5 separate regions of the Homo sapiens genome follow, and regions 1, 3, 4 and 5 are each linked to region 2. Evidence: promoter capture Hi-C in 16 types of primary human blood cells and fetal thymus (Javierre and others, 2016). All regions are on one chromosome and are shown on one strand. The core of a region is centred on a gene start or on the middle of the fragment in contact, and the rest is flanking DNA. Distances in the headings are between cores, read along the strand shown. Region 1 overlaps POM121 (POM121 transmembrane nucleoporin). Region 2 holds the start of BAZ1B (bromodomain adjacent to zinc finger domain 1B). Region 3 overlaps TYW1B (tRNA-yW synthesizing protein 1 homolog B). Region 4 has its middle 8.6 kb from the start of POM121. Region 5 overlaps EIF4H (eukaryotic translation initiation factor 4H).

Region 1 (2,700 bases), core at 192-2,691, 590 kb before region 2:
AAATGTCGGTTTATAATTACTTTGATCCTAGTAACACGCAATTTCTTTTTTTTTTTTTTTGCCGGAGTCTTACTCTTGTCGCCCAGGCTGGAGCACAGTGGTGCGACCTTGACTCACTGCAATCTCCGCTTCCTGAGTTCAAGCGATTCTCCTGCCTCAGCCTCCCAAGTAGTTGAGACTATAGGTGCCCGCCACCATGCCCAGCTAATTTTTGTATTTTTAGTAGAGACGAGATTTCACCATGTTGGCCAGGCTGGCATCGAACTCGTGACCTCAGGTGATCCACCCACCTTGGCCTCCCAAAGTGCTGGGATTACAGGCATGAGCCACCACGCCTGGCCCATGCAATTTCAAAATAGCGGTATCAGTGTCATTGTTAACACTGTCATTATTAAGACGGCTGAAGTCAGTTTAAGAATTGTGATTCATTTGTCTTTATATCCCTGTGTGAATGCTACGGACATGTAATCAATATATCGTGTTTTAAAGTAATGTTAATTGTCCTTTGGGTACACCAACTTTATATACAGTGAGGTTCGTTTGTTCAGTATGTTTGAAAGTTACAGGGATTTCTGTGTTTTCCTTTTTGAAATAGTTCTGTTTTAAATTATGTAAAATCTTTGAAACAATAAGTTGTTTCAAAAAAAATACACTAAAACAAGATACACTCAAAAATTCAGTTTCCATCCCTTTCCACTCTACATTTTTCCTTCCTCTCCATTTTTATTTTTTGATTATCCTTTATTGTTTTTTAAACGGTATGCATATCAGTGTATCTGAAAACCGCCACCTTCTAACATTTAAGGTAGTAGACAGTATATACAGATTTGAACCTTGCTTTTTCACATAATAGATAGTTGAGGTCATTCCATAGCAGTACACAGAAACTCATCTTTGGTCTTAAAACTGCATAGGTACTTTAGTCCTCTGTTGACAAATGTTGGGTTGTTTCAGTCTTCTGCTATCACAAATAATGCTGCAAAGAATACATTTGTTCATATGTCATTTCATCCTTGGCAATTTTGCCTCTGGAAAGTTCCTAGAAGTCAGATTCCCAGGTCAAAGGTTAAATGCGCATGTAATTTTGCTGGATATTGTTAAATCCCCCTACAGAGCATGCACCACTCAGCATTCCCCTCAGCGTTGTATGAGAGGGACCATTTCTCCATGGCCTCACCAGCAGATTTGGTTATTGTAGCTCTGGGCTTTTACCAATTTCACAGGTTAAAAATAGTATCTAAGACAGGCGTGGCAGCTCATGCCTGTAATCCCAGCACTTTGAGAGGCCGAGGAAGGCAGATCACTGGAGGTCAGGAGTTCGAGATCATCCTAGCCAACATGGTGAAATCCTGTCTCTACTAAAAACATAAAAATTAGCTGGGCATGGTGGCACATGCCTGTAATCCCAGCTACTCAGGAGGCTGAGGAAGGAGAATATCAGGAACCTGGGAGGCAGGGGTTGCAGTGAGCAGAGATAGCGCCACTCCACTCCAGCCTGGGCGACAGAGTGAGACTCTGTCTCAAAAAAAAAAAAAAAGCCAGCCGAGCTTGGTGGCTTACACCTGTAATCCCAGCACTTTGGGAGGCTGAGGCAGGTGGATCACCTGAAATCCGGAGTTTGAGACCAGCCTGGCCAACGTGGCAAAAACCGGTTGCTACTAAAAATACAAAAAATTTAGCCAGGCGTGGTCGTGTGTGCCTGTAATCCCAGTTACTTGGGAGGCTGAGGCAGGAGAACTGCTTGACCCTGAAAGGCAGAGGTCAAGTGAGCCGAGCTCACGCCACTGCCCTCCAGCCTGGACGACAGAGTGAGATTCTGTCTCAAAGAAAAAAAGGTATCTAATTTTTGTCTCTTATGAGTAGTTTGATCATCTGTTCATATGTTGAATGATTATTTTCAGTTCTGTTTCCATGAGTCTTAGTTCATATCCTTTACCCATTTTTCTGAAGGGCTACCAGCCAAATCTCATGTTCAAGAGTTTTTCCTATAGTAGAGAAACCTATTCCAAATGAAGCAAAGTTTTGAACGTAAAATAGAAACCATAGAAGTGCAGTGTTAGAAGAAACAGGCTCCTCACGCGTTGCTGGTGGGAGTGTCAGTTGGTACAGCTCTCTAGAGGGCTTTGTGACAGGAATTGTCCACATAAGAGATACATGCACCCTTTGATCAAGCAGCTTTACCTTTAGGAAGTTATCCTACACACATACTGGGAAATGGATACAAGGATTTAATGTAACATTGTTTTAATAATAGCAGCTTGGAAACAATGTACATGTTATCTTTTCAGGGAGCTGACTGAATAACTTACAGTATTGGTGTAAGTTGGAATATACTATGTAACTATGAAAAAGAATAAGGCAACTGAAGAAGTACTCATGAGAATGATCTCAAAAAGCAATTACATAAAAACAAGGCTCAGAACTGTATAGTATCCTCTATTATTCGGGCTTTTAAAAATCTTTTAATATGCATAAAATAATTCTTACAGGATATATTAAAAACTGGCAATCATTACTGAGATAAAAAGGAAATTTACTTTTTACTGTACAGTCTTTTTTTTTTTCTTTCTTTTGAGACAGAGTCTCGCACTGTCGCCCGGGCTGGAGTGCAGTGCTGTGACCTTGGCTCACTGCAACCTCCACCTCCTGGGTTCAAGCAATTCCCCAGTCTCAGCCTCCCAAGTAGCTGGGATTACAGGC
Region 2 (2,700 bases), core at 96-2,595:
ACCCATTAAAAAAAAGCAAATAAAAGCTGCACAACTTTTCACTAAAAGATAATGCTTATGCAAGAAATCTTAGTCATGACGAGAGGATGCTTCCTTTGTAAAACATCCAATTTCATGTTCCTAAAATACAACATAAAAACTTCACGTCTTGGTTTTTTTGTTTGTTTAATTTTAACAAATACCAATCTCCTTCTAAACCTTCAAAATTTCAAACCTGTGTCTGCCCAGGGAAGGCAGGCATCAGCTCCTCCACAGGCAGTTTCCTTCCCTCCCTTTCCTCTAAGCGGGGAATCTCATTCCTAGTTTTCTGCCCCAGGGTCCTGTCAGTTCATCCCCGGCCTAAAGTCCCCTCGGGAGACGAAAAAAACGCCAAGTATCCCCGCAGAGATCGGGGTAAGACGCAGTTGAGTCTTGCACACGCCGCATCACGAGGCCGCGCGAGTACAATTTCAAAACTTAAGCTGCAGGTTTCATTTAAATTTTTAAAAAATTTTTGTAAAAATTAAAGGAGAAAACCTAGCTCCCCCTCCCCACGCCTCCTCCTCCCTCTCGGGTCCTCAAGGCCTAAAGCCAACCCGGGGAAGGTAATGGGGATGGGGGATGCGCTCCTCGCCGGCGAGGCCCCGGGACAAAGTGCGGGGCCCCGGGGGCGGCCGAAGCGGGCCCTTCTCCTTCCAGGGCCGGTGCGCGCCCCCCGCCGGATCCCCTGGAAGGATCGGCGGGCGCAGGCTGAGACTCAGCCTCCAGGCCCGCGAGCGGCCGGGGCGCGCTGACAGCTGCCCCGGGCCGGGGATGCGCGGCTGACCTGGTCTCGCGAGCCCCAGGCCCTACCCCGGCCCAGCCCGGCCCAGCCCGGCCCGCGCGGCTGGAAAAGGATACTCCCGGGTGCGGAAGGCCTCCTGAGTGTGCGGGATGGTGAAGAGCGGCTCCTCTCCGGGCAACGGCTTCACCAGCGGGAAGGGCTTGCGGCCCAGGAGCGGCGCCATCGCGGCGGCGGCGGTGGGGACTGGCGGCTGCTGGGGCCGGCCCCGCGGCGCAGCACTAGGCCCCGCGGCCCGGAGCGAGCGCCAGGCGCCCGGGGGTGGGGTGGGGGAAGGGAGGGGTGAGAGGGCGGCGCGAACTCCGGCTCCCTCACCGCCGGCGCGGCCGCGCGACAGTCATGGAGCGGAACGCCACGGCGCAGAGCTCCCGCGCACACCGCCGCGCCTCCCAGCAGCCCCCCGCCGACCTCCGCTTCGGGTCCCGGCGGCCGGCAGTCACGACTCCTCCTCAGCAGCACCGGAGGAAATTATTGAAAAATGGCGGGAGATTCCCCTCCTCCCCCGGGCCCGGCCAACGCACACACTAACTTGCTCCCCCGTGGCGCCGGTGGCGAATGCTCCAATAGGCGGAGAGCTGGTCAGCGCTCACAGCCTATTGGCTCGGAGGAGCTGCCGCTCCGCGCCTGGGTCCCGCCCCCCTGCCCCTGTCGCGTAGTTGGGTTGCAGCGCACTAGAGGGCAGTCTGAAGAGGTGAAAGGTCACGTTATGTAAGCGCCCGTGATAGGCGTGCGGGCCTCCGACGGCAGAGTTAAAAGTGGGGGACAGCGGGGGATGGAGAGGACGAGAACTCAAAGAGGTCAAGCCGGAGAAGCCCCTCGCATATACAGATACTGCGCCATCTGTCACCGACGGCGACACCGACATCCGGGCACCACTGTCCGTGTGGTGCGCCGGAGGGGGAGGGTGAGCGCGCGGCCAGGGGCTTTGTCTTTCCTCTTGGGCGCCTCCCCCTTCTTAAAGGCGCCGTGCTCGGCCACGCCCGGGGATGCGCGGGTGGGGCTGGGCTGCAGGGAGGGGTTGGCGGGAAGTGGCCCCGGGAGCTTACCCTACCAAAGGTTCTGCGGAAGGACAACGTGGGGGCCAGCTTTGCTCACCCCAGAGTTAACTTCTGGGCGGGAGTGTGGTTGAGATCTGGGTAGAAGTATACTGCTTGTTTCTAGGGGCTGGCTGGAAAGTAGAATATAGAAGCTTCTTTGGAGAAATAGATTAAAAGACGTACTTAGTTTTTTGGTTTTTGGTTTTTGTTTTTTTTGAGACGGAGTCTCGCTCTGTCGCCCAGGCTGGAGGGCAATGGCGCGATATCGGCTCACCGCAACCTCCGCCTCCCGGGTTCAAGAGATTCTCCTGCCTCAGCCTCCCAAGTAGCTGGAATTACTGGCGTGCACCACCACGCCCGGCCAATTTTGTATTATTAGTAGAGACGGGGCTTCTCCATGTTGGTCAGGCTGGTCTCAAACTCCCGACTTCAGGTGATCCGACCGCCTAGGCCTCCCAAAATTATCATTATTTTTTTTTTTGAGACGGAGTTTCACTCTTGTTGCCCAGGCTGGAGTGCAGTGGTGCAGTCTCGGCTCACTGCAACCTCTCCCTCCCGGGTTCAAGCTATTCTCTTGCCTCGGCCTCCCGAGTAGCTGGGACTACAGGTGCGCGCCACCACACCCGGCTATTTTTTGTATTTTGTAGAGACGGGGTTTCACCATGTTGGTCAGGCTGGTCTCGGACTCCTGATCTCAGGTGATCCACCCGCCTCGGCCTCCCAAAGTGTTGGGATTACAGGCGTGAGCCACCACGCCCTGCCAGAGCTGTGACTCTGGCTTTTTTTTTTTTTCTCCCATGATACTCAGCACCTGGCTCGGAACATTGTAGGTGCTAGTGAATA
Region 3 (2,712 bases), core at 91-2,590, 700 kb before region 2:
GACGTGAGGCCAGGTGCAGTGGCTCACGCCTGTAATCCCAGCACTTTGGGAGGCCGAGGCAGGCGCATCACCTGAGCCCAGGAGTTTGAGAGCAGCCCAGCCAACGTGGCAAAACCCCATCTCTACTAAAAATACAAAGATTAGCCAGAGCGTGGTAGCAGGCACCTATAATCCCAGCTACTCGGGAGGCTGAGGCAGGAGAATTGCTTGAGGTGGAGGTGGAGGTTGCAGTGAGCCGAGATCGTGCCACTGCACTCCAGCCTGGGTGACAGAGTGAGACTCTGTCTCAAAAAACAAAATAAAAAATAAACATAGATGTGTGATGTGAAAGTCAGGCCCATATTGGAACTATTGGTGCCATCCTTTTTTCCCTATTCCCTACTTCCATACCCATGGGCATCGATAATGGACTCACAACTTTCTCTAGCCTGCTGAGGCAGAAGCAAGCTTCAGAACAAAGGCCCCCTCAAGACAGTGACCATCAGACACCACCAGTCAGCTCTAACTGGGCACAGGAGATGAAACCCGCCTACCATCGCAGAAAGGAAAAATATTTGAGGGGAAAAGGCTGGGAGAAAGAATAAAGAAGGTTAGATGACCAATTCAGTTCACTGCTAAAGGACAGTTCACTGCTAAAGTTCACTGCTAAAGGGATTTTCTTAAAATGTCAGGAAACCAAAGGAAAAGCATCATATAAACTTCTTAACTTTGCTGTTCCAGTCTGAGAACCATAAAAAATCTTCACTCCAGACACAAAGATGTCTTTCTCTCGAAGGGAGACATAACCATTTGTCATCAAATCCTGAGCTGCTTTTGGAACAGATTTTTCCTGTAAGTTCCTGCCCTTGAAGACAAATAATTACACAAAATCCATCAAGCCTAAATCGTTTCCCAACTTCAGCAGGGATGAAAGGTAGCACAGATACTGACACACTTTATTTTTCTCTTAATCTGACACACCTGTATTTTTCTCTTAAATCTTTCTGGTTGTATTCCTCAAATATTAGCCCCTTGGTATAATAAGGTCCTTTAATAGGCAGGACCCACATTTTTAAGGCTCATGATTTCCATTCCCTCCAAGAAAAAACTTTACATACTTTTATCCTATAAGGTATTTTAGTAGAATAATAGTAGGAACTTATTTTCTGATCCTTAATTAATGGAAAGAGAGGACTACTGACCCTTAAAGGTATAAAACAAATTTGTTTTTCATATAAAAGGTTCACTTTTCATTACAAAAATCTTCCTGTATCTTAAAAATGAGACACACCTATCAAAGAAAAAGTAAGTAACTTAATCCAAGATAACTTAGTCTCCAAAAACTTAGAGAAGAAATTTATTTTAGGCATTTCATTAAAATGTCTAAAGACCAAACACAAAAGTAATTAAAGGTTCCTTTTAGTGTTTAAATCCTCTATAAAATCTGATGCCTAAATACTCTATTAAAAAAAATAACTCCACTTACCTGCATCTCGATGACAATCTGGACACAAATCCAAAGGCTAATGCTAACAGCAAAGCCCAGATAAATGTAAAACCTGTTTATCCATAATGATATTAAAGGTGAGGAGAGGTCCCATGTATCCGCAGAAGGATCTAAATTTAAAATGACACACACAGATAATTTCATTTAAAGCTACATATACAAAGATATCCTTCCCGATTTTAAGAAGAAAATAAAACCAACCTTACATTCAACAACCCAGCTAAGAAATCTAATTTAAAAATCAACTGTTGGCCGGGCACAGTGGCTCATGCCTGTAATCCCAGCACTTTGGGTGGCTGAGGCGGGCAGATCACCTGAGGTCAGGAGTTCGAGACCAGCCTGGCCAACATGGTGAAACCCCGCCTCTACTAAAAATACAAAAATTAGCCGGGCATGGTGGCGCGCGCCTGTAATCCCAGCTACTCGGGAGGCTGAGGCAGGAGAACTGCTTGCACCTGGGAGGCAGAGGTTGCAGTGAGCCAAGATTGCGCCACCGCACTCCAGCCTGGGCGACAGAGCAAGGCTCCATCTCGTGGGGGGGGCGGGGGAATCAACTGTAATAAAAATAACACACTATGTAGTAACGTAATAAAATTATCATACTGTTAACACTAACTCAAAGAAAAAACAGAATATAAAACTGTATCTTCACTTCGAAATGAGCATTTAGAAGCAAGAGAAGGAACATAAAGTAAAAATACTTCATGTGAAATTAAGTTAATTGTTTTGTTGTGCTTGCTCCATAAAAAAAGCTTAAGTAGTAAAAGTATTCTTTTTACTAACTGTACTTTCAAAGGCTCACGGTTAAACTTGTAAAAGATTCTCAAGTAACTGACCTTACGTCTCATTTTTTTTTTTAAGAGAGATATGGAAGGACCTGGCTTCAAACGTTCAACCTGGCAGCAATTTCAAAAGTCGAAGCCTGAAATTTAGGCTTTACAGGTGCAAAAGTCCTAATACACGTGGGTAAAGTGGGAGGGGTAGTTTTCTGTCTAACCCCCTAGCCTCAAAAGGCAAAAGCCAGGTCAAAAGTAGGGATCGGTCCTCCTTGCTCTCAGCGGCGGCTAGCCGGTGCTGTCAAGTGCAACAGTCTCCGAAGGAAGGGGACCGAGGACGCCACTCCGCCCGGAGAGGGTCTCAGTAAAACGTTTACCTCCCCTGCCGCCCCAGGGTCCTTGCCCGCCGAGTGCCCTTACCCATCCTCCTCAGAGCCGACAGGAGACTAG
Region 4 (2,700 bases), core at 123-2,622, 610 kb before region 2:
CCTGGTAATGTTAGATTGTTGGGGTTAACCATTACTGTGCCATTACAGATGAGCTTCGGCTGCCCTCTAGTGGCAGCAGCAACCTGGATCTCAGGAACAAAGATCATTCTAGCATTGGGACCAGCTCTGCGTCATGAGTATGTCATCAGTGCCTAGCATATTACCTGGCATCTATTCAGAGCTAATAACTAACTAATATTGATTAACAAACTAGCCAACATGCACTGCTTTTTGTTTGTTTTTGAGACGAGTCTCACTCACCTAGGCTGGAGTACAGTGGCACGATCTCGGCTCCTCCTCCGCCTCGCACCTCCCAGGTTCAAGCAATTCTTCTGCCTCATCCTCCCTAGTAGCTGGGATTACAGGTGTGCACTACTACACCCGGCTAAATTTTTTGTATTTTTAATAGAGACAGGGTTTCCCCATGTTGGCCAGGCTGGTCTTGAACTCCTGACCTCAGGTGATCCACTTGCTTTGGCCTCCCAAAGCACTGGGATTACAAGTATGAGCCACTGCGCCCAAGCTTTTTGTTTGTGTTTTGAGACAGAGTCTCACTGTGTTGCCCAGGCTGGAGTGCAGTGGCGTGATCCAGGCTCACTGCAACCTCCGCCTCCTGGGTTCAAGAGATTCTCCTGCCTCAGCCTCCCAAGTAGCTGAGATTATAGGCGCCCACCACCATGCCAGGCTAATTTTTGTGTTTTTAGTAGAGTAATTTAGTAATTTTTGTATTTTTAGTCTTGAACTCCTGAGCTCAGGTGATCCACCCACCTTGGCCTCCCAAAGTGTTGGGATTACAGGCGTGAGCCACCGTGCCTGGCCCTTTGCCCACTTTTTGATGGGGTTGTTTGTTTTTTCCTTGTAAATTTGTTTAAGTTCCTTGTAGTTTCTGGATCTACAAGAATCTACAAGATCTGGACCTGACCTTTGTCAGATGGGTAGGTTGCAAAAATTTTCTCCCGTTCTGTAGGTTGCCTGTTCACTCTGATGCTAGTTTCTTTTGCTATACAGAAGCTCTTTAGTTTAGTTAGATCCCATTTGTCAATTTTGGCTTTTGTTGCAATTGCTTTTGGTGTTTTAGTCATGAAGTCTTTGCCCATGCCTATGTCCTGAATGGTATTGCCTAGGTTTTCTTCTAGGATTTTTATGGTTTTGGATTTTACATTTAAGTCTTTAATCCATCTTGAGTTAGTTTTTTATAAGGTGTAAGGACAGGGTCCAGTTTCAGCTTTCTGTATATGGCTAGCCAGTCTTCCCAGCACCATTAAATAGAGAATCCTTACCCCATTGCTTGTTTTTGTCAGGTTTGTCGAAGATCAGATGGTTGTAGATGTGTGGTGTTATTTCTGAGGTCTCTATTCTGTTCCATTGGTCTATGTATCTGTTTTGGTACCAGTACCATGCTGTTTTGGTTACTGTAGCCTTGTAGTATAGTTTGAAGTCAGGTAGCGTGATGCCTACAGCTTTGTTCTTTTTGCTTAGTATTGTCTTGGCTATACAGGCTCGTTTTTGGTTCCATATGAAATTTAAAGTAGTTTTTCTAGTTCTGTGAAGAAAGTCAGTGGTAGCTTGTTGGAAATAGCATTGACTCTGTAAATTATTTTGGGTAGTATAGCCATTTTCACAATATTGATTCTTCCTATCTATGAGCATGGAATGTGTTTCCATTTGTTTGTGTACTCTCTTATTTCCTTGAGCAGTGGTTTGTAGTTCTCCTTGAAGAGGTACTTCATGATTTATGAGAGTTTTTAAAAAGTTTTTGTCTGCTAAGTCCAACGTCTGGGCTTCCTAAGGGCTGATTTCCATCAATTTATTTTGTTATTTTGGATACGTTCCTTTGTCTTGGCATGATTTGTGACTGTCATTGAAACATGGACATTTGAATATTGCAAGGTAGTAACTCTGGCATTTAGATGATACTTCTCATTGTTTGCTATGTGTCTGTGAGTGAGTGTGTTTTTAATCATTGAAGGCTGTAGTAGTACATACATTTAGTGACTTCCAAACTATTTTTGCAAAGATTTATCATTTTCATGTGTGGTCACTGAAGTCTCTGATTCTTTTAGCTTGTGTTCAGCTCACATTTTGATAGAGATTTCCTTGAATACTAGGAGCTAAAAATGGAAGAAAACACCTCTCCCAGTCTTTGAAGTTTGCCTTTGCACCACAGCTTTTCTTCAGCACTTAGCTGGGCCTGCACTGACCCTCGTAATCAGGCCAAGGTGAAAGCTTAGGTCTTTCTGAGCGAGCATCCTGCCCTGGACAAAGCCCGTGTAACACCTGAGTGCTTGTGACTGCCCTGCTTTCCCAGAGGAATTCTCCCCAGCTTTTCTGCTTTCCCAGAGGAATTCTCCCCAGCTTTTCTGCTTTCCCAGAGGAATTCTCCCCAGCTTTCCTTCTCGGATTTAGGAAGTCTGTATTAGTTTGCTAGGGCTACCATCACGAAATGCCACAGACCATGTGGTTTCAACAGCTGGAAGTTATTTTCTCACAGTTCTAGAGGCCAGAAGTCAAAGATCAAGGTGCCAGCTGCAGGGACCAGCCCCACAGGGTCGGTGGGCTTCTCCCTGTGTGCAGCGATGAGAGAGTGTAGAAAGAAAGACACAAGACAAAGAGATAAAAGAAAAGACAGCTGGGCCCGGGGGACCACTACCACCAATGCGCAGAGACCGGTAGTGGCCCTGAATGTCTGGCTGCGCTGTT
Region 5 (2,790 bases), core at 61-2,560, 650 kb after region 2:
TTTTTTTATTTTATTTTTTAAATACAAGTTGCCTCGTTAGAATATAGGCTATGAACATCTTGCTGTTTGTCAAGGACACACTTGGGCTTTGTGTTTTCTTGCAGAAAGGATTACTTTCCCAGGATAACACCACAATAATACACACTGAGGTGTTCAGTCTCCTGGGTTGCAGTCCAAAAGTATCTTTGTTTGGTAAAGAATGATCACTTTTAATACCTTGGTTTGGGAACGGCTCAGACAAAAGCTTGTTTCGGGGCAGGAGTGTAGCTAATGTTCATGATACTGTAACGTGGAAGTGTGCCGGTGTAGGTGGAGCTATTGTCATTCCAAAGAACATTTTATTTGCTAATAAAAAAAGAAGTAAATGTTGGATGACATGAAATTATCGCCTTTGGGTTAGGTTTCTAAACATCAAATTTGTTCTCAAGTCATTTCGAAATTTAATAACTAGGGTTTTTTTTTTTTTCCTAGTTCCAAAAAACGTTCACAGAAGTACCCAGAAAAATTCTTCTTAAACAGCGTGGTCAATTTAAGTTTTAGTTGCATTGGGACTACAATAAGGTGACCTTATTAAACTGAGTGTGGGGATTTAAAAAAATTTCCTTCAGACACATTTGCCAGCTCTTCTGGTGTCAAATTTTGACATTTGGGGGTGCCAGGAACAATCAGAAGTAAAATTCTATTAAGATGCTATTAATTTCAAATCTCCACAGCAGATGAAAATATTAGCCATTTGCCCCAGGTGTACTCCAAAAACTGATAGGAGAGTTTCCTAGGTAGCACTGTGCATCACTTGAACTTCCTAATAGAAAGTCTCTTTACTGTTAAGCATCTTCTATGTCTCACTTACTTGGAATTTTCTATTTGGCTTCATATTAATGTGAAACTACATAAAGTATTGCTACTTTCAGAAGTAGTTTTAAAAACTTGTTGGTGAATTTACATATTCATTTATACATGTGTATTCTTTTTTTTTTTTTTTGAGATGGAGTTTCACTCTTGTTGCCCAAGCTGGAGTGCAATGGTGTGATCTCGGCTCACTGCAACCTCCACCTCCCGGGTTTAAGCGATTCTCCTGCCTCAGCCTCCCAAAGTGCTGGGATTACAGGCATTAGCCACCGCGCCCGGCCTCAATTATTTTAATTATGTCCACATGAACAAATGTCACTGCTTTACAATGCTTAAGCATCATAGAAGATTGCCACCTATGGAAAGCAGTTTTAACACTGCATTGTTTGGTACTTGTGTAGGCACCTTCTCCCTTGTCTAAAATGCCTCAGACAGGCTCGTACATCTCACCTCTGAATTACTTGGGTCACAGGTGAAAGAAATGGTAGGCCTAAAATGAACAGTTATCATCATAAAACATAGTTTGGTAGTTATACATCTTCCTAAGTTTATTTCGTAGTTGTGTTTAATAACCAGTGCAGTTGTCAGGAAACAGTATTGAACCACTGCTTTTTTCCCCCGAGCCTGTAAGGGCATGTCCCCAGCAGCCAGGGAGAGAACCAGGGACTGCATTGTTCAGCAAGCAAATCAAAACAAAATTCCAAATGATCAAGAGTTGATTGTACCAGATCTTGAATGGACTTTGTTTTGCAGTTTGCTAAATTATCTTTTTGAGGTTCCAGTTTCTCATCTACCATTGGCAGTAAAGTGCAGAGTAATACTGATTTTATATTTCTAATTGCAACAAAGCTATGAGTGCTTAGTGGAAAACCACCGATCCTGAGAATTAGGGTGGAAATTGGAGGTGGCAAGAATTGAGGTGGCTGAAATGGTGCCATCTAAAAACTGGCAAAACTCCAAATTTATTCTTTATCAGGATTCAGTTAGGGAGTTTAGAATTCTTTTTTAAATAGAGATGGGTTTCACTATGTTGCCCAGGCTGGTCTTGAACTCTTGGACTCAAGTGATCCTCCCGCCTCAGCCTCCCAAAGTGTTGGGATTACAGGCATGAGCTACCACGCCCAGCCTAGGAGTTTAGAATTCTAACCTTTGAATCTTTAAACTTAGCATGTCTGTCTAAATTTCTGAGCATATTTTTATCCAAAATTTTTATGGTGGTAAAATATACATAACATAAAATGTGCCACTTTACCCATTTTTCAGTATACATTTCAGGGATATTGAGTGTATTCGTAATGTATAACCATCACCACTATCCAGCTCCTTAACTCTTACAGCTTGTAAAACTAAAACCCTGTCCCCTTTGAATAGTAATTCCCTATTGCCCTCCTTCCCCCAGGTCCCTGGCAACCACCATTCTACTTCCTGTCTCTGAGCATATTTTAAGATTTGTATGTAATAGGAAGGAAAGCAGTGTATAAAAACTACAGCTAGTTTTCACTGATGCTAGGGCCTGTAAAGCTATTGAAAAGCTTATTTTAAAATGCTGTTTACATGTCAAATGTCAAGTCGTTTAGGTTTGTTATCCTTCTTCACTCCAAGTGTTCCATTGCTTAGTTCCAAACCATTATCCTCTATGAAAAGTGTTACCAGAAATATTTGGATTTGCTAAGAGGTCTCTGCATGACGGTTCATGTAAAAGCCCTGGCTTTGGAATAAGGCAGACCAGAGTTTCATCAGTTCAGCCATGTGTTAGTTGTGTGATCTGAAGTAAGTTTCTTCACCTCTCTGAGCCTCGTTTTCCCCACATATGAGTTAGAAACATGTATTTATTTATGAAATAGGCTCTCCTTCTGTCACCCAGGCTGGAGTGCAGTGGCAGGATCATAGCTCAGTGCAGCCTCGACTTCCCAGGCTCAAGCCATCCTCCCACCTCAGCCT

The links. The method cuts DNA at HindIII sites, captures the fragments that hold promoters and counts their contacts. A CHiCAGO score of 5 or more calls a contact.
Region 1: a fragment that was not itself captured here is called in contact with the fragment with the promoter of BAZ1B in region 2 in 1 of 17 cell types (total B cells); the score reaches 5.5 in total B cells.
Region 3: a fragment that was not itself captured here is called in contact with the fragment with the promoter of BAZ1B in region 2 in 3 of 17 cell types (total B cells, non-activated CD4 T cells and total CD4 T cells); the score reaches 7.4 in total B cells.
Region 4: a contact is called between a fragment that was not itself captured here and the fragment with the promoter of BAZ1B in region 2, in 2 of 17 cell types (neutrophils and naive CD4 T cells). The highest score is 7.5, in neutrophils.
Region 5: a fragment that was not itself captured here is called in contact with the fragment with the promoter of BAZ1B in region 2 in 5 of 17 cell types (activated CD4 T cells, fetal thymus, non-activated CD4 T cells and 2 more); the score reaches 6.5 in activated CD4 T cells.

The regions. Positions count from the first base shown.
Region 1 is chr7:72,931,530-72,934,229 of GRCh38, forward strand. All of the region lies in intron 5 of POM121 (POM121 transmembrane nucleoporin), which reads left to right. Among named protein-coding and RNA genes, the nearest start is that of POM121, 7.8 kb to the left of the region's middle. RefSeq lists a silencer at 2,538-2,700. The HindIII fragment of the contact is 3,243 bases long and covers 1-2,700 here.
Region 2 is chr7:73,520,948-73,523,647 of GRCh38, forward strand. It overlaps BAZ1B (bromodomain adjacent to zinc finger domain 1B), which reads right to left and starts at 1,346. Exons shown (of 20, transcript NM_032408.4): 1 at 880-1,346. The coding sequence starts at 986. RefSeq lists silencers at 590-1,469, 1,820-1,959 and an enhancer at 1,530-1,689. The HindIII fragment of the contact is 2,091 bases long and covers 1-2,007 here.
Region 3 is chr7:72,825,390-72,828,101 of GRCh38, forward strand. It overlaps TYW1B (tRNA-yW synthesizing protein 1 homolog B), which reads right to left. Exons shown (of 14, transcript NM_001145440.3): 1 at 2,683-2,712; 2 at 1,466-1,596. The coding sequence starts at 2,686. Among named protein-coding and RNA genes, the nearest start is that of TYW1B, 1.5 kb to the right of the region's middle. The HindIII fragment of the contact is 1,791 bases long and covers 446-2,236 here.
Region 4 is chr7:72,915,151-72,917,850 of GRCh38, forward strand. It overlaps a transcript of POM121 not described here. Among named protein-coding and RNA genes, the nearest start is that of POM121, 8.6 kb to the right of the region's middle. The HindIII fragment of the contact is 1,703 bases long and covers 522-2,224 here.
Region 5 is chr7:74,175,273-74,178,062 of GRCh38, forward strand. The region is part of intron 1 of EIF4H (eukaryotic translation initiation factor 4H); the gene reads left to right. Among named protein-coding and RNA genes, the nearest start is that of EIF4H, 2.3 kb to the left of the region's middle. RefSeq lists an enhancer at 1-149. The HindIII fragment of the contact is 2,137 bases long and covers 243-2,379 here.